Linked DNA regions of Homo sapiens: all the other regions are linked to region 1. Evidence: promoter capture Hi-C in 16 types of primary human blood cells and fetal thymus (Javierre and others, 2016). All regions are on one chromosome and are shown on one strand. Each heading gives the region's core, a stretch centred on a gene start or on the middle of the fragment in contact. The rest is flanking DNA. Distances are from core to core; before and after follow the strand shown. Region 1 holds the start of CTNNAL1 (catenin alpha like 1). Region 2 holds the start of LOC124902241 (a long non-coding RNA gene). Region 3 has its middle 9.4 kb from the start of LINC01509. Region 4 overlaps RAD23B (RAD23 nucleotide excision repair protein B).

Evidence for each region. Contacts are between HindIII fragments. The CHiCAGO score rates a contact against its expected background, and 5 or more counts as called.
Region 2: a fragment that was not itself captured here is called in contact with the fragment with the promoter of CTNNAL1 in region 1 in 2 of 17 cell types (fetal thymus and M0 macrophages); the score reaches 7.1 in fetal thymus.
Region 3: a contact is called between a fragment that was not itself captured here and the fragment with the promoter of CTNNAL1 in region 1, in 1 of 17 cell types (neutrophils). The highest score is 6.0, in neutrophils.
Region 4: a contact is called between a fragment that was not itself captured here and the fragment with the promoter of CTNNAL1 in region 1, in 2 of 17 cell types (monocytes and total CD4 T cells). The highest score is 5.9, in monocytes.

The regions. Positions count from the first base shown.
Region 1 is chr9:109,011,285-109,017,114 of GRCh38, forward strand. It overlaps CTNNAL1 (catenin alpha like 1), which reads right to left and starts at 2,215. Exons shown (of 19, transcript NM_003798.4): 1 at 2,018-2,215. The coding sequence starts at 2,158. It overlaps TMEM245 (transmembrane protein 245), which reads right to left. Exons shown (of 18, transcript NM_032012.4): 18 at 3,851-5,830. RefSeq lists an enhancer at 1,403-1,906 and a silencer at 1,568-2,457. The HindIII fragment of the contact is 6,099 bases long and covers 1-2,571 here.
Region 2 is chr9:107,335,727-107,341,472 of GRCh38, forward strand. It overlaps LOC124902241 (a long non-coding RNA gene), which reads left to right and starts at 4,481. Exons shown (of 2, transcript XR_007061717.1): 1 at 4,481-5,324. RefSeq lists an enhancer at 5,402-5,696. The HindIII fragment of the contact is 3,740 bases long and covers 1,017-4,756 here.
Region 3 is chr9:107,473,298-107,478,681 of GRCh38, forward strand. It overlaps the pseudogene RNU6-492P. Among named protein-coding and RNA genes, the nearest start is that of LINC01509, 9.4 kb to the left of the region's middle. The HindIII fragment of the contact is 665 bases long and covers 2,199-2,863 here.
Region 4 is chr9:107,310,427-107,316,116 of GRCh38, forward strand. RAD23B (RAD23 nucleotide excision repair protein B) reads left to right here. Exons shown (of 10, transcript NM_002874.5): 5 at 1,256-1,311. Among named protein-coding and RNA genes, the nearest start is that of RAD23B, 30 kb to the left of the region's middle. The HindIII fragment of the contact is 1,229 bases long and covers 3,761-4,989 here.

The DNA of each region.
Region 1 (5,830 bases), core at 965-3,464:
TTGTGGTAGAGATGTAGCTGTAGATACACAATGTGTGGGATGCAAAACCTCAGCTGTGACCCTGAACAAGGCTTTAACTGGAAAAAGAAAAAAAAAAAAAGGCAGGCATTCTTCCCCTTTGGCATTGACCTCTAACTCTCAGCAGTGATTTATACTTTTCTTCCTCTGCTCTCCTACCCTTCTCTGGCTTCTTTTACCCCAGAGTTACACAATGCAGAGCTGTAAGACTGATACATTTTTAGCAGTGGATACTGTGAAAAGTTGCCATTTCTCCAGATTATGACTTTCTAGCTTGTTTTTCCACTATGTACCATCTTTTTCTCTAGATCTCATTACTGCTTCTAATCTCTAGAGAGGACACAGCATAGTGTAGCAAAGAGAACCTTCTGGAGCCAGGGTACCTGGATTCAAATCCCAGTTTGGCACTTATTGAAAGCCCTAACAACAAATTATTTAACCTCAGTATTCCTCAGTTTCCTCTCCCATACCACGAGAATATATACCAACTTCACATGATTGTTATGAGAATTAATGAGTTAATATTTACAAAGTGCTTAGAACCTGGCCTACCACATAGTAAGCATTACATAGGTGTTATTTAAAAAATGGATAAAATACTATCAACTTGAACTCCATCACTCTCTTATCTCTCTGCCTCTTAAAACTGCTCCAGTGTTTCTCGTTTTGGTTGTGTTGTGCTAGTGGAGATAGGCGAGGAGCGGAGGGTCTGACATTACTGAGGGATCCCAGTGCCCCTTCCCACTGGTCAGAGCCTCAATGAGACACAGGAAAAGGGAAGGAGAGTGTCAGATATATTCATCACTGCTCCGTTAGCCATGCGAAGGTGAAGAAAATAGGGATGTTTATTTAACCAGCATAACAGGAATCCAGGGACATGTGTAACTGCTGTTTTCAAATATGCGCAGGGCTGGGCAGGAGAAGAGATAATAGCATTTAGAATTCTATGCAACAGCTACAGGCTCCCCTTCACTGAACATGTTTAAGCAGGGTACTGGTGGCCAGGTGTCAAGGATGCTAAAGAAAGAATTTTTAGTCAGATAATCTTTAAGATTTCTTCTACCTCTAAAATCTTGGTAATCCTAGTATGAGTCACGAAGTGGTTACAACCTAGATGTGAGTCACACATCGCCAACGCGCTCCCGAAGGCACAGAATTCACTCCCCACAGTGCTTGGCATCTTACCACAGACCTAAGTGAGGAATTCTAGCCCTGAAGCTGCATATAACCCAGCTCAGAGAAACAAAAACTTTCCTAAAACTCAGGGCGTCGGTTAGCTGATTGGCAAATACAGTAACGCACACATCCCAAACGGGACTTGGCAAAACGGTGTGCATCTGGATTAACTGTCATACAGTCTCCACGTCACTCTTCCACGAGGCCGGACAGAAGCGGGCAGAAGTGAGCAGCAGCAGGTTCAGGGGAAGGGGTAGGGTGGCCGGGATGAATGGGAGGCCAGCGAACTGACCTACGGCGGGGAGGGACAAAGGATCAGGGAGCGCACGCTGGGCGGGGAGGCCGGGAGGAATACCCCAGGCGGAGGAGCCGGGCTCGGGACCAGGCTGCGAACTGGTGACAAAGTCGGTTATCGTGGAGGGCCCTAAGTACCAGCGAGGGGCCCCGCGGGGGTCCTCTCTGCCTCGGGAGCTGGGCTCAACCACTCGCCCCGCGGAGGGGGCATCGCCCGGCCGGGGGCACCCGGGAGCCGCAGACCCGAGGCAGGTACTGGGGGCAAAGGCCCAGGCCGGCACCCCCGCCCCGCAGCCTCCCCTGCTGCCGAGTCCACTCAACCCTGCCGCCGGAGTTTGGATTATCCAGTCTCTCGCCGCCCGGGCCGAGGCCCGTCCCGGAGCCCCACACAGGCGGTCCGACAAGAACGCCGCAGTGCCGGCGCGGAAAGTGGGGCAGCGGCTGCCTCCCGTCCGGTCGTGCGAGCGGCGGCCGCCATCGCGGGCCGCGGCGGGAAGGAGAAGAGGGGCCGCGCCAGGCGCCACTTTACCTGAGAAACCAGCGGGAGTAGCGTCTGCTCCACCGAGCGAGTTTTGATCTCCAGTCCCGAGTCGAGGGCGAAGCCCGAAGAGCCGGAGCCGTAGACTGCTCCGGCGCCGCCAACGCCGGCGGGTCCGGGAGAGGCGGCCATGGCCCTCGGTCTATCCCGCAGCCGGGACTCCGCGCCGCGGCGAGCCTGCCGCCAGTCAGCCCACCCGCCCGAGGCGGCGGCGACAGGACACTCGCGCCAACCGAGACCCCGCCCCCAGGGGCCCGCCCCCCCAGGGCTCCGCCGCCAACCCTGCGTCCCCGACGCCCGTCACCGTATGTCCCCGCCCACCCCCGGCCTCTGCCCCGCCCGCGCAGTCCAGCCTGGTGTGGGCTCCCTGCAACCCCACCCCCTAAGCCGGGTCCCGCCCCCACATGGCCCCGCCCTTATCTCTTCTCAGACCCCTTCCATGGGTTCCAGGCACCTTCTCGCCAGGGTGGCGAGGAGAAACAAAACACATCTGTCACACAGCCACATGGCCTCCTCTTACTTGGACAGACAAGCGTCCCCAGCAAAGCTTCCCGTCCTCTCGATAGGTGACTCGTCCTAAATCAGCTCTGAATTCCCGCAAAGACTTCTGGAAGCTGTGCTGGGGTTGAAACTGGTAGACCAAAACCAGAATCAAGTCTGTTGGGAGGGGCCTTTCCCCTGGGACGGGAATTCCAGTGGTAATGTCTTCCTGGGGCTTCTCCGGAAGGTCCAATTTCCACTCCACCCTGCTCATTCTTTCACCATGTATTTCTCACAAACACTTTGAGCTGGATTGAAGGGGAAACATTTGATAATGCAATCATTAATGGAGTATCTGGGTATTCGGCAGGAAGTCAGTATATCTTTCACACTACTGTTTAGACTTATTCAAAAGAAATTTAAAAGAAACATGAAAAAGCCTCATCTACTGTTCAACACTACTTCTTAAAACTATTTTTCGAAGTTTTTTCCTAGTGCCAGGCACAGAGCAGTTTCTTCATAACTGTTCATTGCATGAAAACACCAAGTGTGTATTTCTGACAACTCACTTGAGGGGAAGGGTAAGAATCAGTTCTGTAAGCACAACTCTGAGCTCGCACAGAGCCCCACGATGGGGGCGGGGAGCTGAAGACTCCTATTCTAAGGTCTCCAGGAGCAAGGCCAAAAGGAGGTTGTCAGCAGTATGCACGCCGTGAAGGAATTCCAGACTTAAGCAACAGACTGAGAAGCATGAAAAAATGTTTTGTCAACTACCATATCTGCCAGTGAGAACCTGTCAGAGTAAAAAAGAATCTGAGGCTGGCCAGTCCACCCGGACACCTTGGCCTGGATCATTTCTTCTTCCATAACACCAGATTGATGAGCTGGGTACATCAACCTGAGGCATAAGAAAGCTCTTTCCCAAGCACCGTTGAAAGGCGCTTCACAGTGCTTCAACCTGTAGCTTCAGCTTCATCAATCTACCAGTGCTGCACAGCTGTCTTTGGTATTGAAGATAGCCAAGCTTCAGCTTCTTTTTCTTCATTCAAAAAGGACAGGTCCTCAATCCAACTTTTTCTTCCAATTCTTCTCAGCCAACCATCTCACCACTTCCTTACCTATCACAAGGCCACCTTCCCCTGTGCACTGAGGGCCCTTGACCTCTTTAAGGCGCCCAGTGTCCACTTCCTGGACACACCTTCCCTTACGAAGTTGACAGTATCTCCTAAGAATTCAGTGTACACAATGGTGCCGGAGGAAATGGCATAACAGAAGGCCTAAGAGACGGATGGATTCATGAAACTTTGGCTTCACAAAAGATCAAGTTTTTCAACACACAGGAGATTAAGTTTACCACATGATTCATTCAACACTAGTAATTTTATTTCAAAATATAAATATTTCACATTAATAAAGAAGTTACATCAGTAGGTTGTCAAAGCAAGTTAGCTAAGAAACAGCATTTGTGTGAGAACAGAGGGTATTTATTGTATTCGAATATTCTTTTTTACTTTTGAATTGCCTCCTTCACCTGAGAACCCAGGGATGATACATTTTCAAAGAGTTATGTAAGCAATTACAACTCTATATCAAATCTTAGTTCAAAATCAAATTGTACTGGAAATACACTTCAGTTACCTAAATAAGTGGCACTGCAAAGGGCAAAGAAGGGTTTTCTTTGGGATGGCTACAATGAGAGTTACATCTGCTGGGTCTCTGCAATAAAAAATAAATGATATTTGATAATAAGCCAAAATTATCAGGATTTGCTTCCATACTTTTCACTGTAAAATAAAAAGCTAGCAAAAAGCTAGTAAGAAACCAGATGTCTAGTAAAGAACTCTGGACTTGGAGTCAGAAGTTCTGCAACTAAATTCTGGCTCCATCATTTTGTGGTATAAACTTAGGGGAATATCACCAAAAACTTTTCAGAGCCTCCAGAGCCCCCCCATCTGTACAATAAGGATAATATTGTCTGTCTCACAGGGCTGTTACAAAAGGTGTCTGAAAACTATAAAGTGCCATACAAAAGCATTATTAAAATGTAATATCAATATATCACCACTGTATTTGCACATTAGTTGATCCTTGAAAAACCTGCAAAATTAAACACAATACTGATTTTACACACCACAGGTGGAAAAGAATCTCTATACCTTAAGTATAGCTCTAAACAGCAAATATACTTGCTTTCTGGACTTCAAGATTTATTACACACTACATGGTACCACAGTAATAGATCTGCCATTCAGTATTTCCATTAGGGATGTCTTCTCAAAGAGTTGTAAACTTGATCAAGGGCCATGTTTCTCAAAGGACCCTGTAGTCCTTTGAGATGCTCTGAGGAATAAAGAAGGGGAGTGCAGTCTAAGGTCAAACAGTGTTTGTCCCCTTTTATAAATTCACAATGTGTAATAGCATGTTCAAAACTCTTAGAAGTCCTACAGTAAGGAAACAAACTCAGCATTCCTTCATTTTAATTGACCATGCAATCCCCCACCCCCAACACACACACACTTTTTTTCTTACATCTATTAACATCTCTTGGAACTACTGCTATATGGAACACATTTTGCCAAAAGCTGCTCAACCATGAAGAAAAGGAAAGAGAAGTAGAACAACGGACTGACAGAAAAAAAAGAACTCTATTCTATTCTGAATTCTGTTACTAACTGGCTGTATGTGTATGTCAGACAAGCCACTTAAACCTATGAATTTGGGTCTTTCTCTAGAAAGTGACAGGACCACCTAATTTTAGAAGTCCCATTCTAGCACAGAATTTCTGACTCTAGTAGACAGAACAACTTGATTTATAATTCTCTTAAACTATCAAAAATAACCAAACAGTGGCTGCAGACAGCATGTGTGTTTTTTTTTTTTTTTTTTTTTGCAGGTTCCCAATAATCGGTAAGTTAATAAAATGAATATATTTTGATGGCAGAATGTTGAAAGACAAGAAACTAATAAAAAGTACTTGTTTTTAGCTGGAACTAGCATTTGGAAGTAATGCTAGCCAGAGGCTATTTCCACTGTGAAATGCACACTCAAAGTCCTATTGTAATATTATTTTAAGGGTCTTAGGAGGCCCCTCAGAGGAGACTGCAAGGTCAGGGCTAGAGTATGAGAAGTCCTAAGGGTTTTTGTATTTTGTTTTTTTTTCCTATAAACCCTGAGGTTGAAAGCTCTGGATAGCTCACCTAAATTACTTTCCTCTAATCTAACCCCTCACAGCCTGAATTTCTGAGTATTGCTTGACCAGTAGTGACACATTCCTGAGGCACTAATATAACCCAAATGGAAACTACAGGTCCTAGGAAATCCAGA
Region 2 (5,746 bases), core at 1,637-4,136, 1.7 Mb before region 1:
TTTGGCCCATTCTTTTTAGTATTATTGTTTCTTGCCTACTGTAATGGTTTCCAAGTGGTGATTTTCAAATTCCTTCTACTTTATTAGTTAACATTGTCCTGTATTCTTACTCTTTTTCCCCCCATTTATTAGTCGTATCTGTATGGTCTTTGATTCCTATTTTATTCGATGGTACATAATCCCTTACCATCATTACTTTGATGTTGGAATTGTCCCGAGTTCTGTGATTGTGTGTTTTCTTTTTTTTAGTAGAGACAGGGTTTCACCATATTGGCCAGGCTGGTCCCGAACTCCTGAGCTCAAATGATCCGCCTGCCTCGGCCTCCCAAAGTGCTGGGATTACAGGCGTGAGCCCACTGCACCTGGCTGATTGTGTGTTTTCTTAAAGCTGGCTTCTGTGTTTCGACATGCCATTACCCTCTGAGTACTTCCCTACTTTCTGGCACAGTAATGTATTCCAGGCTCTTGCATTTCCTGTGCCCTAGTCCTGGAATCGGCTATTTATCAAGGAGCTCTAGCTCCCCTTAATGTAGACTGTATTTAGAAAGCAAACCCTTGCTCTAGGCGTGCTCACTGCTATTAGAGTCTCACTGCTCCCAAGCCGTCTAAGTGTGTCCACACAGTAAATACATCCTTACATTTACATTTGATACATAGACACTGAAAAGGGAGTTCACTCTGGTACCATTAATTCTGATCCAATGCCATAAGGTTCAGGCTGGGCGCGGTGGCTGAAGCCTGTAATCCCAGCACTTTGGGAAGCCAAGGTGGGCGGATCGCTGGAGTCCAGGAGTTCAAGGCCAGCCTGGGCAACTTGGTGAAACCCTGTCTCTACGAAAAATACAAAAATTAGCCAGGTATGGTGGTGCATGCCTGTGGTCCCAACTACTTGGGGGTGCTGAGGTGGGAGGATCGCTTGAGCCCAGGAGGTTGAGGCTCCAGTGAGCCGAGATCACGGCACTGCACTCCAGCCTGGGTGACGGGGAGACCCTGTTTCAAAAAATAAAAATGCCATAAGCTTCATTCTATCTTCTCCCTTCCCATATTTCAGACTCCTTCCAGGGCAGTGAGAAACTTGGCTCCCATTATCCTCAGTATAATTTCACCTTCCCTGAAGGTAACCAGCGCCCAGCAGCACTCTGCTCCCTTTCTTGTGCTGAGCTGCCACTCGGCTTGGCCACTTTCCTGCACAGCCGAGGCATTCATATTTGAAGTGGACTTGGAAATGGAAGTGAAATGTCTTTAGATTTCCTAGTGTAGCACTCCTATGATGGAGCTTCTAGGAAAGCTCAGCTACATGGGAAAGGAAGGGCCTTATTTGTTCTGCTCTAGTTGCTGTTCCACTGGAAGGTTACCACCTGCTTGGAGTTTAGGACCAGTGTGTTTCAGGTGCTGCTTGTGGTGAGAGACAGGGTTGGTGGTTAGGGGAAAAAGCAGCCCCACAGGCTAGGCTGGTAGTGCAACCCGCACCCTGGCATTGTGCCCTCCTCTCTGTCCTGGTGCATGTTGCTGTTCTGATTCATGCGTCCCGTGAACAAGGAGCAATTGCTATGTGGTTTGGAATTTTTCCCACCTCCTTTATGTTGCTAATTTTTTTTATATACAAAATATGGCCCCTCTTCCAGGAAGCCTTCCCGTGACCCCCTTTTCCCCTCTAATTTGGGCCAGGAACTCCTCTGGGTTCCCTCAGCTGCTTCTAAGTATCTGCCATAAAAGTGAACACCCTGAACTGGGATTATCTGCATTTGGTGTATCACTGAAGGTACTGAACGAGAGAAAACTGGTGAGCTCTCTCAAATTCAGGGCTGTGCCTTTCATCTCTGTATCCCCAGAACCTGGTGAAGGGCTGGACCAAAGACCAAAGGAGATGCTGAGGCATCATTGGATGGATAAACAGACAATGAACAATAGTTGGGATGCCTTTTGTCATCTTTCTTGTGGCCCTAAGCTCCTCTTTACCTTTTCCGGAACCCTTCGGTTCTGAAAGTGGCCTAAGATGGTCAATGAACAGTGCCTCAAAGGCAGCTCTGTTTTTCCTTCCTCAGCTCCAAAGACTTTTCCACCAGGTTCTGAAAGACTTGACACATAATGCAGTGAGCTGGCTGGTGGTGGAGACTGCAGGGTTCTACTGACCAGTTCCAGATGGGCATGCATTCTGAGACTTAGTTGGAGAGCACACTGACAGCTGCACTCCCAGAAAGCCTGTGCTGAGGCCAGGTCTGAGGGCCTGGGTTTGAACTTGGAGTCCGTCGGGCCCCAATTGTTATCTTCACAGCCACATCAGCTGGGTGACCTCAGCCAAATCAGTCTACCTCTGCTCTTGTTTTCTCATCTGCAAAATAGAGCTGCGGATGCCTGCCCCAGGTTGCTGGTGGAGATCAAGTGAGAGAGTGGATTGAAAACATCTTTACAAAGGCCAGGTTTGGTTTTGGATGTGGGTGCCAACTGCCTACCCTGAAGTCAAAGACCGTCTGGGAAGAGAAGTTCTCTTTGCCTTTCTCCCACGACGAGCGTGTTGCTGAGTTATTTCCAGGAGCGTGGGGTGAGCCTCTTTGATCTCAGGGTGCCATTGCCTTCCCTGCCTCACTGTGATCGGCTCAGCGTTCCCAAGCGGCCAGGGCGCTTCCCACTCAGCTGGGCAGCACCGCCCAAGCATTTGGCATTTGGGGAACAGAAAGTTTTTATTTTTATGAGCTGTTTCTGAGCAATGCCTTGTTTTCTCCTGTCTGTTTCTAGGCCACAGGATTGGCAGCTGCATCCAACCTCCAGGTCAAATTTGGCAGAGAACCAAGCAATCCTGTCAAACAGAATGCCCACTGCTGCTCCTTCCCATCTCGAGGAACTGTCTCTTCTCAATGTTTTCTTTTGATTTCCTCTGACAGTCTTGCTGCTCTTCCAGAGGCACAGGAACTCAAAATTGGGAAGGGTTTGAAGGTGACCCCCACGATCAAGTGCAGTGCCTCCCGCACGCGTGACTTCCAGCCTCCACATGCACACTTCCAATAACTGCACACACACCCTCCAGCTCAGGCCTCTTGGATTTCAGACACTCCAGTGGTTGAAGGGTCGCTATGTTAGGATCTCTGATCTTCCTCTCTAACCAGGCTATCCTCAGGTTCTAGTTCACTTCTGGGGGTCACCCTGAGCCAATGTAACCCCTCTTTCCTGTGTCAATCCTTTAGGTCTTTGAGAAGAGTGGTTGCGTTTTCTCTGACCGTGTCCCACCCTCTGGCCAAGCCTTCAGCTGAAAAGAGTCCCTCAGTTGGGGCGAGTGTATTGAGTCCTTCATTCAGATGAACCCGATACTTCAGGAGGGGCTGAGCAATAGGCACTACAGGGGAGCCCTCACCTCCCTTGTTCTGTGCATAATACCTCTATTAATACAGCCTAAATTTGGTCTTGCTGATTTGGCAGCCACATCACACTGTGCCCTTAGACTAAGTGACTGTGCTAATAATACACCAGACTTTTCAAGGTGTCTGTGCCTTTGGGGGTCATGTCTGACACATGTTATAGAAGCAGAAACAGCCTACTAAACAAATACTGCTGTTTTCATAAAGTTATGTTCTGGACCAAGAAAATTGAGCTATCATTTACAAGTCCAGTGTCTCACCCTGTGCTAAGTGCTCGTATGAGGCACTTTTGCAATTTTACAAATGGGATAACTGAGGTCAGTCAGGGTAGAGCTACACAGCTACCAAGTGACAGCCAGGTGGCAAACCTAAGTTGATTGATTCCGAAGTCACCCTAAGTGACACTGCCTCCCTATAGCCCCTGCTCCTTCACATTCCCTGAGCCAGTCTCTATCCCGCCTGTGATTTCTTTCTCTCTCTGCTGTTTTGACAGTTATTTGTTCCTCTGGTGATTTGCCTGGTTATTGCTAGACCAGCAGTTCTTAACATGCAGTATGAGGACTATTTTCAGGGGATGGTTATATGAAATCAAAACTTTTTTTTTTTTTTTTTTTTTTTTTTTGAGTCAGAGTCTTGCTCTGTCACCCAGGCTAGAGTGCAGTGACATGATCTTGGCTCATGGCAACCTCTGCCTCCCGGGTTCAAGTGATTTTCCTGCCTTAATAGCCCAAGTAGCTGCAATTACAGATGCCTGCCACCACATCTGGCTAATTTTTTTTTTTTTTTTTTTTAGTAGAGATGGGGTTCCACCATGTTGATCAGGCTGGCCTTGAACTCCTGACCTCAAGTGATCTGCCTGCCTTGGCCTCCCAAAACTGCTGGGATTATAAGCGTCAAAATTATTTTCATAAAAACACTAGTCCGGGCACGGTGGCTCACGCCTGTAATCCCAGCACTTTGGGAAGCCGAGGCTGGCGGATCACCTGAGGTCAGGAGTTGAAGACCAGCCTGACCAACATGGAGAAACCCCATCTCTACTAAAAATACAAAATTAGCCGGGCATGGTGGCACAGGCCTGTAATCCCAGCTACTCGGGAGGCTGAGGCAGGAGAATCACTTGAACCCGGGAGGCAGAGGTTGCAGTTAACCGAGATCGTGCCACTCTACTCCACCCCGGGCAACAGAGCGAGACTCTATCTCAAAAAAACAAAAACAAAAACAAAATCTTCTGGGTTTCTCAATTTTTAAGAGGGAAAAGGGCATAAGACCAAAAAACTTGAGAACTGCCGTGTTAGGTGATGGTTCTCTGTTAGATGTGTTAGATGACTCAGAAAAGAGTACCTGGGAAGGCCACTGGGGCACTGGTGAAGTGTCCCCTCTTGTCTGCTGGAGACATGGTTGGAAGCTTACATACCTGGTGCTGTGTGATGCTTCTCCGCCATTCTGCTCTCCATTCCTGCTTTCAGGAAAACAAACTCTAAACTCCCTGCTTGGCTTTCAGCGTACTTGCTCCAATTTACACCTTCAGTCTGGTCTCCCTCCCTCCCCACCGCATTCAACAGGGCTTCGTTACCCTGGCTTTTTCCACCCCTCTATGCATTTGCCCTCTGGTGTGCTCTGCCTAGAAACTCTCCCCTATTCCTCTCTCCTCAGTAGGCCAACGTTTAAAACCCACTTCAACGTGGCCAGGCGCGGTGGCTCACGCCTGTAATCCCAGCACTTTGGGAGGCCGAGACGGGCAGATCACGAGGTCAGGAGTTCGAGACCAGCCTGGCCAACATGGTGAAACCCCCGTCTCTACTATTAGCTGGGCATGGTGGCAGCGCCTGTGGTCCCAGCTACTCGGGAGGCTGAGGCAGGAGAATCGCTTGAAACCAAACAACGTTACAGGCTCTGTGAAGGCTTTCCTGCCCCAGAGTCAGCAGAGGATTGTTCCCTTGTTCCACTCCCTGAACATGTGGTACACAAACGGTGCGTATCTGACCATAGCTATTGATTTGCACATTTGTTTCATGGACATTGGTCTCAAAACCAAAAGCAAAACTGGCCTTGTCGGCAGTAGTGGGAGTTCAGCACCTATAGCTGACAAGGGAACTAAAAGGAAGTTTGCTTGAAGTCTTTGAAGGATAGAGGGTGGGAGAGGAGGGAGAGTCTGTCTCACATTGTAGGGAGGAAGTAAAACAAAAAGTCCAAGTGAGTGATGGAAAAAGCCAGGACCTGACATGCAGCAGGCTGAACACCTGGAGGGCAAGTGCTGTCTGCCATGCGCCGGCACGCCCCCTTGTGGTGAGGGAGAGCCGTGTAGTTTCAGGGGAGGAGCACAAAGTGGGAAAGACCCAGCATCCGTGGGTCGCTGAAAAGCTGTGGGAAATCGGGTCGCTGGAGGAAGGGAA
Region 3 (5,384 bases), core at 1,281-3,780, 1.5 Mb before region 1:
GGTGTCTTGGTTTGAAAATTAAGACCCATTCTGACCAAATTATTAATTCCAACAGAATTTTGTGATATTTTTGAATAGGGCCAAAACCTTCATGCTGAATCTGAAAAACACATCTTAATATGCCTTAACATGCACCCGATAAACAAGTTAAATGTATCTAAAAAATAATAAGCAATCGGCCGGGCACGGTGGCTCACACCTGTAATCCCAGCATTATGGGAGGCCAAGGTGGGTGGATCATGAGGTCAGGAGTTCAAGATCAGCCTGGCCAAGATGGTGAAACCCTGTCTCTACGAAAAATACAAAAAAATTAGCTGGCCGTGGTGGGCACCTCTAATCCCAGCTACTCGGGAGGTGGAGGCAGAGAATTGCTTGAACCCAGGAGGCAGAGGTAGGAGTGAGCTGCGATTGCGCCACTACAATCCAGCTTGGGCAACAGAGCAAGACAAAGTCTCAAAATAAGAAGAAGAAGAAGAAGCAATCAAGAAAATTGTAGGGGGGAGAATGGTATATGTGGTTGTAGTTAACATGGTTGAGTCTTGCAAAGAATCATGTATCACTTTTTTAAGAAAGGTAACAATTTTTTTACTGGGGCTAGAAAGCTGATTTTCATTTAACTTACACTTTATGCCCTTTGCAGAGCAGTTGCAGGAGGAAACAGTATCTGTAAACCTGCGTATTCTTTTTTTTTTTTTTTTTTGAGACTGAGTCTCACTCTGTCACCCAGGCTGGAGTGCAGTGGCATGATCTCAGCTCACTGCAACCTCTACTTTCTGGGTTCAAGTGATTCTCCTGCCTCGGCCTCCCAAGTAGCTGCGATTACAGGTGCCCACCACCACACTCAGCTCATTTTTGTATTTTAAGTACAGATAGGGTCTCATCATGTTGACCAGGCTGGTCTCGAACCTCTGACCTCAGGTGATCCACCCGCCTCGGCCTCCCAAAGCGCTGGGATTACAGGTGTGAGCCACTGCGACTGGCCATATTTACAGATTCTTACTCATCTTTGCTTCTCCTGCCCTTTGCACAGTGGCTAGTAAAGTAGATCCTTGAATTGATTACATGTGTTTGAATCAATTGCATGGAAAGAGAAAGTGGAACAAAGCCAGAATGATACTATCACATTTTGAGGGAATGGTTCCTATGTTCTCTCTAGAGGGAACACAGTGACCAGTGAGTAGTCCTGTCCTAGCTGGCCGGTAACAGAGCACTATACAGAAGGATGATAAAGCACAGTAAAATACTTTTTTGGATGTTAGAGCACAACATTACATTGAATTTAGAACTTTCCAGGGCCAGGCACTGTGGCTCATGCCTGTAATCCTAGCACTTTGAGAGGTCGAGGCCCTTAAGCCCAGGAGTTAGAGACCAGCCTGGGCAACATAGGGATACCCTTGTCTCTACAAAATAATTTTTTAAAAAAATTAGCCAGGTATGGTGGTGCATGTCTGTGGTCTCAGCTACTTGGGGGGCTGAGAGGGAGAATCTCTTGAGCCCAGGCGGTTGAGGCTGCAGTGTGCTGTGATTGCACCACTCAGCCTGGGTGACAGGGTGAGACCTCATCCCCCATCTCAAAAAAAGGAAAAAAAACAAAAAAACAGAACTTTCCTCTGAAAGCCATCTTTTCTGCATGGTGTTTTTTGTTTTGTTGTTGTTTCTTTGTTTGTTTGTTTAGAAACTGATGTTTATTTTCCATCAACCTTATTTCCATGTTGCTTAAGAGCCTGTGCAAGAACAGAAAAATATGGAACACTTCACGAATTTGCATGTCATCCTTGCGCAGGGGCCATGCTAATCTCTGTATTTTTCCAATTTTAGGATATGTGCTGCCGAGGTGAGCATGGTGTTTTTTGTTTGGTTGGTTGGTTGGTTTTGTTTTGTTTTTGAGACAGTCTCACTCTGTCACCCAGGCTGGAGTGCAGTGGCATGATCTCAGCTCACTGCAACCTCTGCCTCCCAGGTTCAAGCAATTATCTTGCCTCAGCCTCCTAAGTAGCTGGGATTACTGGTGCACGACACCATGCCCGGCTAATTTTTGTATTTTCAATAGAGATAGGGCTTCGCCATGTTGGCCACGCCGGTCTGGAACTCCTGATCTGAAGTGATCCACCCACCTTGGCCTCCCAAAGTGTTGGGCTTACAGGCATGAGCCACCACACCCAGCCAGCAAGATGTTTTTGATCATCTTGATTCCTCTAAGCTTCCCTTGGGCTGTTAGGATGAAGCCATGGATGATTGGCCTGTTAAGTAAATCAGATCTAGGTGCTGGTTCCTCAGATGTCAACTTGATGTGACCTTGGGCAAGGTCACAAGTCCTTTATCTGGGTCTTTTCCTTGAGTTAAATGGTCTTGAAGATGCTTTCCTTTTCAAACGTCTTACGTAATTTTATTTTATTTTTGAGACAGGGTCTTGCTCTGTCACCCAGGTTGGAGTGCAGTAAAACAATCATAGCTCACTGCAGCCTCAGCCTCCTGGGCTCAAGGGATCTTCCCACCTCAGCCTCTTGAGGAGCCAGAACCACAGGAACATGCCACCACTCCTGGCTAATTTTGTTATTTTTTTATTTTATTTTTTATTTTTTGGAGAGACAGAGTCTCCCTATATTGACCAGGATGGTTTTGAACTCCTGGTTTCAAGTGATCCTCCCACCTCTGCCTCCCAAAGTATTGGCATTATAGTTGTGAGCTACCTACGTAATTTTACAGCTTCAGTCCTTGCAATGTTACCCATTCCTAGGTGAGGCGGTAACAGTGCCTCAAAGGCAGGGCAATGGTCAATTCCGCGCACTGTCAGAGTGAGTTTATTTAGATGTATTCAGAGGTCAGAAAACTACTGTCATCCAGGCAAACTAGAAGAGTCTCAAGCTTGAATTGGAGCAAACCAAATGGGAGGGTTTCACAGCACCCAAAGCTAAACCTTCCTGTTTGGGCAGACTGGCCCACTCAATATCCTAGAGTAGAAAGTACCCTCTTTTAGCTGGTATGGTGGCTCACGCCTATAATCGCAGCACTTTGGGAGGCCGAGGCGGGTGGATCATGAGGTCAGGAAAGTACCCTCTTTTAGCTTTTATTTTATTTTATTATTATTTTTTTGAGATGGAGTCTCGCTCTGTTGCCCAGGCTGCAGTGCAGTGGCACGATCTTGGCTCACTGCAACCTCCGCCTCCCGGTTTCAAGCGAGTCTCCTGACTCAGCCTCCTGAGTAGCTGGGATTACAGGTGCCCACCACCACGCCCAGGTGATTTTTGTATTTTTAGTAGAGATGGGGTTTCACCATGTTGGTCAGCCTGGTCTTGAACTCCTGACCTCAAGTGATTCACCTGCCTCGGCCTCCCAAAGTGCTGGGATTACAGGCGTGAGCCACCGTGCCTGGCCTAAGCTTTTAAAGTGCAATTTTTTTCTTTTTTTTTTTAGCCTTCATTATTTGTCATATGTCCATGGTACACATACCTTTTTTCTTGAAAGGAGGCCCAATGGGTCATCCAAAAAAAGGATAAAATATCTCCTTTCCCTGCTGGGTGCAGTGGCTCATGCCTGTAATCCCAGCACTTTGGGAGGCTGAGGCAGGTGGATCACGAGGTCAGGAAATCGAGACCATCCAGGCTAACACGGTGAAACCCCGTCTCTACTAAAAATACAAAAAAAATTAGCCAGGCATGGTGGCAGGTGCCTGTAGTCCCAGATACTTGGGAGGCTGAGGCAGGAGAATGGCGTGAACCGGGGAGGTGGAACTTGCAGTGAGCTGAGATGGCACCACTGCACTCCAGCCTGGGCAACTGAGCAAGACTCTGTCTCAAAAAAAAAAAAATCTCCTTTCCCCAAATTTTGGCATCCTGGAGGACATGCCCAGTGGTCTCTTAATTGCTTCCTGTAGGTCACCTGACATCCATCTGTCTTCCCCAACACACAACAAACCCCTCAAATGAACAAAACTCTTTCCAGAGTCAATGCAGAGAATTACATGGCAAGGAAGAGTTCACAAAAAGGAGATGCCAGGATTTTGAGACAGAGTCTCACTCTGTCACCCAGGCTGGAGTGCAGTGGCGTGATCTCAGCTGACTGCAACCTCTGCCTCCCAGGATCAAGCAATTCTCTTGTCTCAGCCTCCTAAGTAGCTGGGATTACAGGTGCAGGCCACCATGCCCGGCTAATTTTTGTATTTTCAATAGGGATGGGGTTTCACCATGTTGGCCACGCTGGTCTAGAACTCCTGATCTCAAGTGATCCACCCACTTCGGCCTCCCAAAGTGTGGGATTGACTCTGGAAAGAGTTTTGTTCATTTGAGGGGTTTGTTGTGTGTTGAGGAAGGCAGATGGATGTCAGGCGACCTACAGGAAGCAATTGAGAGACCACTGGGCCTGTCCTCCAGGATGCCAAAATTTGGGGAAAGGAGATATTTTATCCTTTCCTTGGATAACCCAGGATTTTGGCTAAATATTCAGTCAATGATTACTTTTATTCAATTAAGTTTAGTAACTGAGGGTATTCAAGGACACATCAAGAAACCTCCTAGTGCCCTCCAGAAGCTCATGTCTTTAGGGGAAGCCAGACCCATAAGACCTTATAATAGACTGGGTGCAGTGGCTCACACCTGTAATCCCAGTACTTTGGGAGGCCAAAGCAGGAGGATCGTTTGAGGCCAGGAGTTAAGAGACCAGCCTGGGCAATATAGTGAGACCCCATCTATACAGAAAAATAATAATGAAATTAACCAGAAGTAGTGGCACATGCCTGTGGTTCCAGCTCCTCAGGAGGCTGAGATGGGAGGATCATTTGAGCTCAGCAGTTTGAGGTTGCTGTGAGCCATGTTTGCACCACTGCCCTTCAGCCTGGGCAACAGAGCAAGACCTTGTCTCAAACAAACAAACAAAATACACAGAAAAACCCCACATAACCTTGTAATACACACGAATAAGGGTTTAATGCAAGATCTAAATAGAATGGAGGTGTATTCTTAAGAGCTGGGCTTTTAAGAGACATATAGGCTTTTGTCAGGGTAGTAGGGGTCTTTCCAGAAGCAGTGGAGACCAGTATCTGCAGGCAAGTTTCAAATGCTGAAACAGCCATGTGCACTGGAGGACCAGAAGTTGTTGAGCATGGCAGGTTTATCTAAGGAGGAACTAGATAGGGTCTTTTGTTATTGTTGTTGTTGAGACGGAGTTTCACTCTTGTCGCCCAGGCTGGAGTGCAGTGGCATGATCTCAGCCCACTGCCACCTCCACCTCGGGTTCAAGCAATACTCCTACTTCAGCCTCCCAAGTAGCTGGGATAACAGGCTCCTGCCACCATGCCCAGCTAATTTTTTTTTTTTTTTGAGACGGAGTCTTGCTCTTGTCACCCGGACTGGAGTGCAATGGCACAATCTCAGCTCACTGTAACCTCC
Region 4 (5,690 bases), core at 3,125-5,624, 1.7 Mb before region 1:
TTGATTTGGTCTTTTAAATGGAATACTGTGCACATTTGGGAAGAAATTGAAGTAGATTTGATTGTGCCGACATAGAATGATTGTTAAGTTAAAAAAACACCAAAGCAAGACACAAGTTGTTATTCTTTTAAATAGAAATTGGTGTCATAGTGGTTGTCTCTGGGTTAGGGGTAGGAAAAATTTAGTTTTTATGTATTGTGCGTTTTGAAATTTTATTTTCTCTGCATTAGTTTTACAGTATATTTAATGAAGAACTTAAATTATACCAAGGGATTATATTAATCATAGTATTCTTATTGGGTGTTACGATGCCAGACACTTTGCTAAGCACTGTACTAGTGTAGCCCTACCCACAACACTTTGGAGTATATGATACGGTCGTTGACATTGTACTGATGAAGAAACAGGCTTAGAAAGGTTAAGTAATTTATGCATCCAAACTTGAGTTTTCTGCTCTTATTATGTACTACCAAGGGCTTTCTCAGAACTGAAATATAATGTGTGTGTTGTTTTTAATTGAGATACAGGTCTAAGTGTGTATGTGTGTCTGCTTTAATTTAAACTTCTAACTACTACCTTTACCACTGTTGTAAACTTAAGTTTATATTTCTTTGGCTTGCTCTTGGTCTTTCATAATTTTCTGTCTTTTATTGCAGACTTCTCTGTAGTTTCCCAACAGAAACTTAATCTCTTTAAACTGATTTTCATTACATTCAAACTTGGATTTAACCCATATCTACCTTTTTTGCATATGCTATATTTCTTTATTTGAATATCTTCTTTCAGTGTCCTCATTCAGAACTTACCTATAAGACTTCATTATGTAAAGACTTTATAGCCTAATTTGGTTTCTCCATGTGCTATTTTGTATACTGCTTTTGATATTTCTTCTGGTGTGACTTGATTTATAAATTATTTAACTTCTCATGTAAATTATTTCAGGTAAATAATTGTGCATTATCTTTTTTGTATTCAATAGATAGCTGTTAGGATATTATTTTATATATTTTGATATTTAAAGTGATGGAGTCTCAGAATAGAAGGAGTACCAAGATTGAAAATTTTTCCCAAACCACAAATGTTGTAGATAAAGCTTTTGGATTTAATCTAGAAGAGACAGTTTAAATACTGTAGTCAGACTTTTATATTTAATTAAAATCAAAGAATCTGTTTACCAATTGGATAGTTACTAAACTAATGTAAATTAAATTTTATATACTTTTTAAAATGTGATTTTTCTAAAATCCTTTTGTAGTACATCGGGTGATTCTTCTCGGTCAAACCTTTTTGAAGATGCAACGAGTGCACTTGGTAAGTATCTGCTTTTCCTTATAAATAACCTATAAAGAGATAGGAAAGAGGTTTCACTTTTCTAGATCATGATAAAAGTGTTAATAATTTGCATGGTTGTTTATAATCAAGCTGTAAGATGATTGATTTAGGTAATTATTCAATTAATAGTGTTACTAAAGACTTTTAATGTTTATGTATTGAGTTCTTTAAAACTTGCTCTGAGTTGAGCCTACTTGGTTAAAGCAAATAAATTTCCATTTTCCGGATGTGAATTTTAAATGTGATCCTAACATGGTTGATCTGTGTATGGATTTATTACAAAGGGTCTTTGAAATGGGTATGAAATTTTTCTAAGATCTGCCTCACACTTCATGTGTATTCACCATTAGACTTAATTCAACTTGATGGCACTATACATTCCCATCTACATCTTGTTGCTTGCATTGGCTTGCAGCAAAAATGCCTTTTTATCCCAACTTTTAATTTTACCTACTGAATAATGCCTTTCCATCTCCCATCACCCCAATCTGTCAAAATGAAGCAGCATTTTTTTTCTCCCATTGTAGCATCTCTGATACAGTTCCTGCTAATTACTGGTTTATTGGCTGGCAACTCCATTCCTAGTTTGTTACTTTTAAATGGCAGGGAGGGAGAAAGCGAGGAATAGGTAGAAACAGCAGCTTTGGTGCAGTACAGGCTTCTGGATTCCTGCTTAGCTTCTACAGCAGCAGGGTTCCAGCAGCAGTACCACCTCCTAGCATCTGAGTTGGTTCTCTGAGCTAGTTGGACTGGAACTCCGTGATGCCCTTGTTGCTGTGGAAAATGGCATGTACATTTAGTGGCAAAACGGCAGTTTAAATTATCTAAGATCGCCTGGGTGTGACAACCCCAGATTTTCATCTTTGAGGAGCAGTGTCCTAAAACCACTCTGCTATCAAATACAGTGTGAGTTAGTCTCTAGCCAGGAAAACAGAAACCACTCTATTTCAAAGAGGGAAAGGCTTAATCTTAGGAAATTGTTAGGAATTGGAAGGGCTGGAAAATAGGATTACCCAGAGAGGCAGTAAACTGTCTGTGGCCTCGGCTCCAGCTGGAGCCAGCTAGCACTTGCCCCTGATGGTGTTGAAGGCTCTGGCTGTGGTCACTGCTGCTGCAGCTGGAATGCATTGATGCTCCTGAGTTCCCGGGAGCCTGGGAGGCCATGCTGTAGCTGCTGCTACTCAAGCCTCTGTGACGATGTCTTCCCATTCTCAGCTTTATGGTCTCGGGATCCCTCTACATTTTCATCTTTAATTTACCCAAGTCTCTATGTTGATTCCCTGCTTTTTTATTTTATTTTATTTTTCTGATTTATCTTGTTGCTGTACAAATTAACCTTGCTTCTTTAAACTTTCCTTCTTTGGCTGCTGTGACACCACTCTTTTCCTGATCCATACCTCAGGCTCTTCCTTCTCAAGCTTTCTAGTTAATTCTTTTCTTTTTTCCTTTATTTTCTTTTCTCTTTTCTTTCTTCCTTTCCTTTTCCTTTCGTAGTCTCACTCTGTCGCCCAGGCTGGAGTGCAGTGGCATGATCTCAGCTCACTGCAACCTCCACCTCCCAGGTTTAAGCGATTCTCCCGCCTCAGCCTCCTGAGTAGCTGGGATTACAGGCACGTGCCACCACGCCCGACTAATTTTGTGTATTTTTAGTAGAGATGGGGTTTCACCCTGCTAGCCAGGATGGTCTCAATCTCCTGACCTTGTGATCTGCCCGCCTCGGCCTCCAAAGTGCTGGGGTTACAGGCGTGAACCACAGTGCCCGGCCAGTTAATTCGTTTTATTTTACCTGACTATTAAATGTATGAGTTTTCTATGGTTCCATTCTAGGTCATAGTTCAAAGTTTAAATTATGGGAATGACCAATACCATCCATATACTATATAGATTCCCCAAATTACAGCTGCAGTACAGATCTCCCTCTGAACTCCCAAACTCGTATCTTCACATTGTCAACTAGAAAACTTTAGAACCTCCATGACTTCAGGTTTCAAACTGACTCATTTTTTATTCCCCAGTCTGATTCTTTTCTTGTTCACTTCTTACTTGTACCATCATTCATTCATCCACCCTCTGCCTCTTTTGGCCCAGTAAGTCTGTTTCTTTTCTTTTCCTTTCTCCTCTCTCCTCTGTCCTCTCTCCTTTCTCCTTTCCTTTCTCCTTCCTTCCTCCTTCCTTCCTTTCTCCTTCCTTCCTCCTTCCCTTTCTTCCCCTCATTCCACAGTTACTAATGACTCTGTTTCTTAAAGTCTCTGGAATATTTGTTTTCACTGTCATTTAGTTGCCTTAGTTCAGGTCCTTATTTCACTTGTACTCTTGCATTATCCTTATCCACCTGGTCTGCCTCTTCCTTACCAGAGTGGAAAGCAACTCTCATGGGGTCTTTGTTAATTCTTTTAATAGTTCCTCATGACCTGGAAGATAAGTCCAAAGCTTATTCTTTTTAATTTTTAAAATTTGTATATAGGGAGTACAAGTGCAGATTTCTTACATGCATATATTATGTGGTGGTGAAGTTTGGGCTTTTAGTGTAGCCATCACCTGAATAATGAACATTGTACCAAACAGGAAGTTTTTGAACCCACACTCCACTCCCCACCTTTTTTGTAGTTTCCAGTGTCTGTTATTCCACTCTATATGATGTGTGCCTATTGTTCAGCTCCCACTTGTGAGGACATGGGGTATTTGACTGTTACTGAGTTATTTCATTTAGGATAGTGGCCTCTGTAGTTCTATCCATGTTGCTGTAAAAAAGACATGGTTTTATTCTTTTTGATGGGTGAGTATTATTACACACACACACCACATTTTCTTTATCTCATCCTCCATTGATGATTCCATATCTTTACTATTGTGAATAATGTTGTGATTAACATACAAGTGCAGGTATCTTTTTGATATAATGATTTATTTCCCTTTGGGTATATATACATAGTAGTGGGATTTCTGGATTAAATGATAGTTCTGTTTTTAAGTTCTTTCAGAAATTTCCGTACTGTTTTCCATAAAGGATGTACTAATGGACATTTCCGCCAGCAGTGTATAAGCATTCTATTTTCTCCACATCCTTGCCCAACATCTGGTATAAGATGGGGCATCTCATTGTGGTTTTAATTTGCATTTCTCTGATGATTGGTGATGTTGAGCATTTTTTCATGTTTGTTGGCCACTTGTCTGTCTTCTTTTGAAGAATGTTTTTTGCCAGTCATGTTTTTTGCCCACTTTTTAATGGGGTTATTTGTTTTTTTCTTGATGTTTTAAAGTTCTGGATAATAGCACTTTGTTAGATTGCCTAAGCCAGTGTCCAGAAGAGTTTTTCTAGGTTTTCTTCTAGGTTTTTTTGTAGTTTCAGGTCTTAATATTTAGGCTTTAATCTGTTTTGAGTTGACTTTTGTGTTTGATGAGAAGTCTGGGTCTAGTTTCGTTCTTCTAAATATGGCTATCCAATTTCCCAGCACCATTTGTTGAATAGGGTGTCCTTTCCCCGGTGTATGTTTTTGTTGACTTTGTTGAAGATCATTTTGGTTGTAGGTATGCAGCTTTATTTCTGGGTTCTCTATTCTGTTCCATTGATTGATGTGTCTGTTTTTATACCAGTACCATGCTGTTTTGGTTACAATAGCCTGGTAGTATTATTTGAAGTCAGGCAATATTGATCAAAGCTTATTCTGAATGACATATATAAGGTTCTTCATCACCACCTCTTTTGCCTCATTACTCTGTTTCTTGGCCAGTCTCTCTCGTTTTTGTTTTTTTTGTTTTGTTTTGTTTTGTTTTTGAGACTCTCTCTCTTTGTCACCCAGGCTGGAGTGCAGTGGCACAGTCTCAGCTCACTGCAACCTCCGCCTCTTAGGTTCAAGAAATTCTCCTGCCTCAGCCTTCCAAGTAGCTGGGATTACAGGCGCCTGCCACCATGCCCAGATAATTTTTGTATTTTTAGTAGATACGGGGTTTCACCATGTTGGCCAGGCTGGTCTCGAACTCCTGATCTTAGGTGATCCGCCTGCCTCGGCCTCCCAGAGTGCTGGGATTACAGGTGCGAGCCACTGTGCTGGCCTCTCTAGTTCTTTTTACAAGTCATTTGCCTTTGGACTTTTAAGATCTAAAAAGTATCACATTGCTTATGGGTATTTTTTTGAGATTGTATAATTTAACTAGGAAACATGATTTTAGGAGTCATAGTGTAATGATTAGGTGTGGAGACTCTTGACTGTCAGCCTGTGTTTGTATCTCTGCACCATGACTTAATACTTTTACGAATTTTTTTTTTTTTTGGAGACAGTCTTGCTCTGTCGCCAGACTGGAGTGCAGTGGCGTGATCTTGGCTCACTGCAATCTCCGCCTCCGGGGTTCAAGCAATT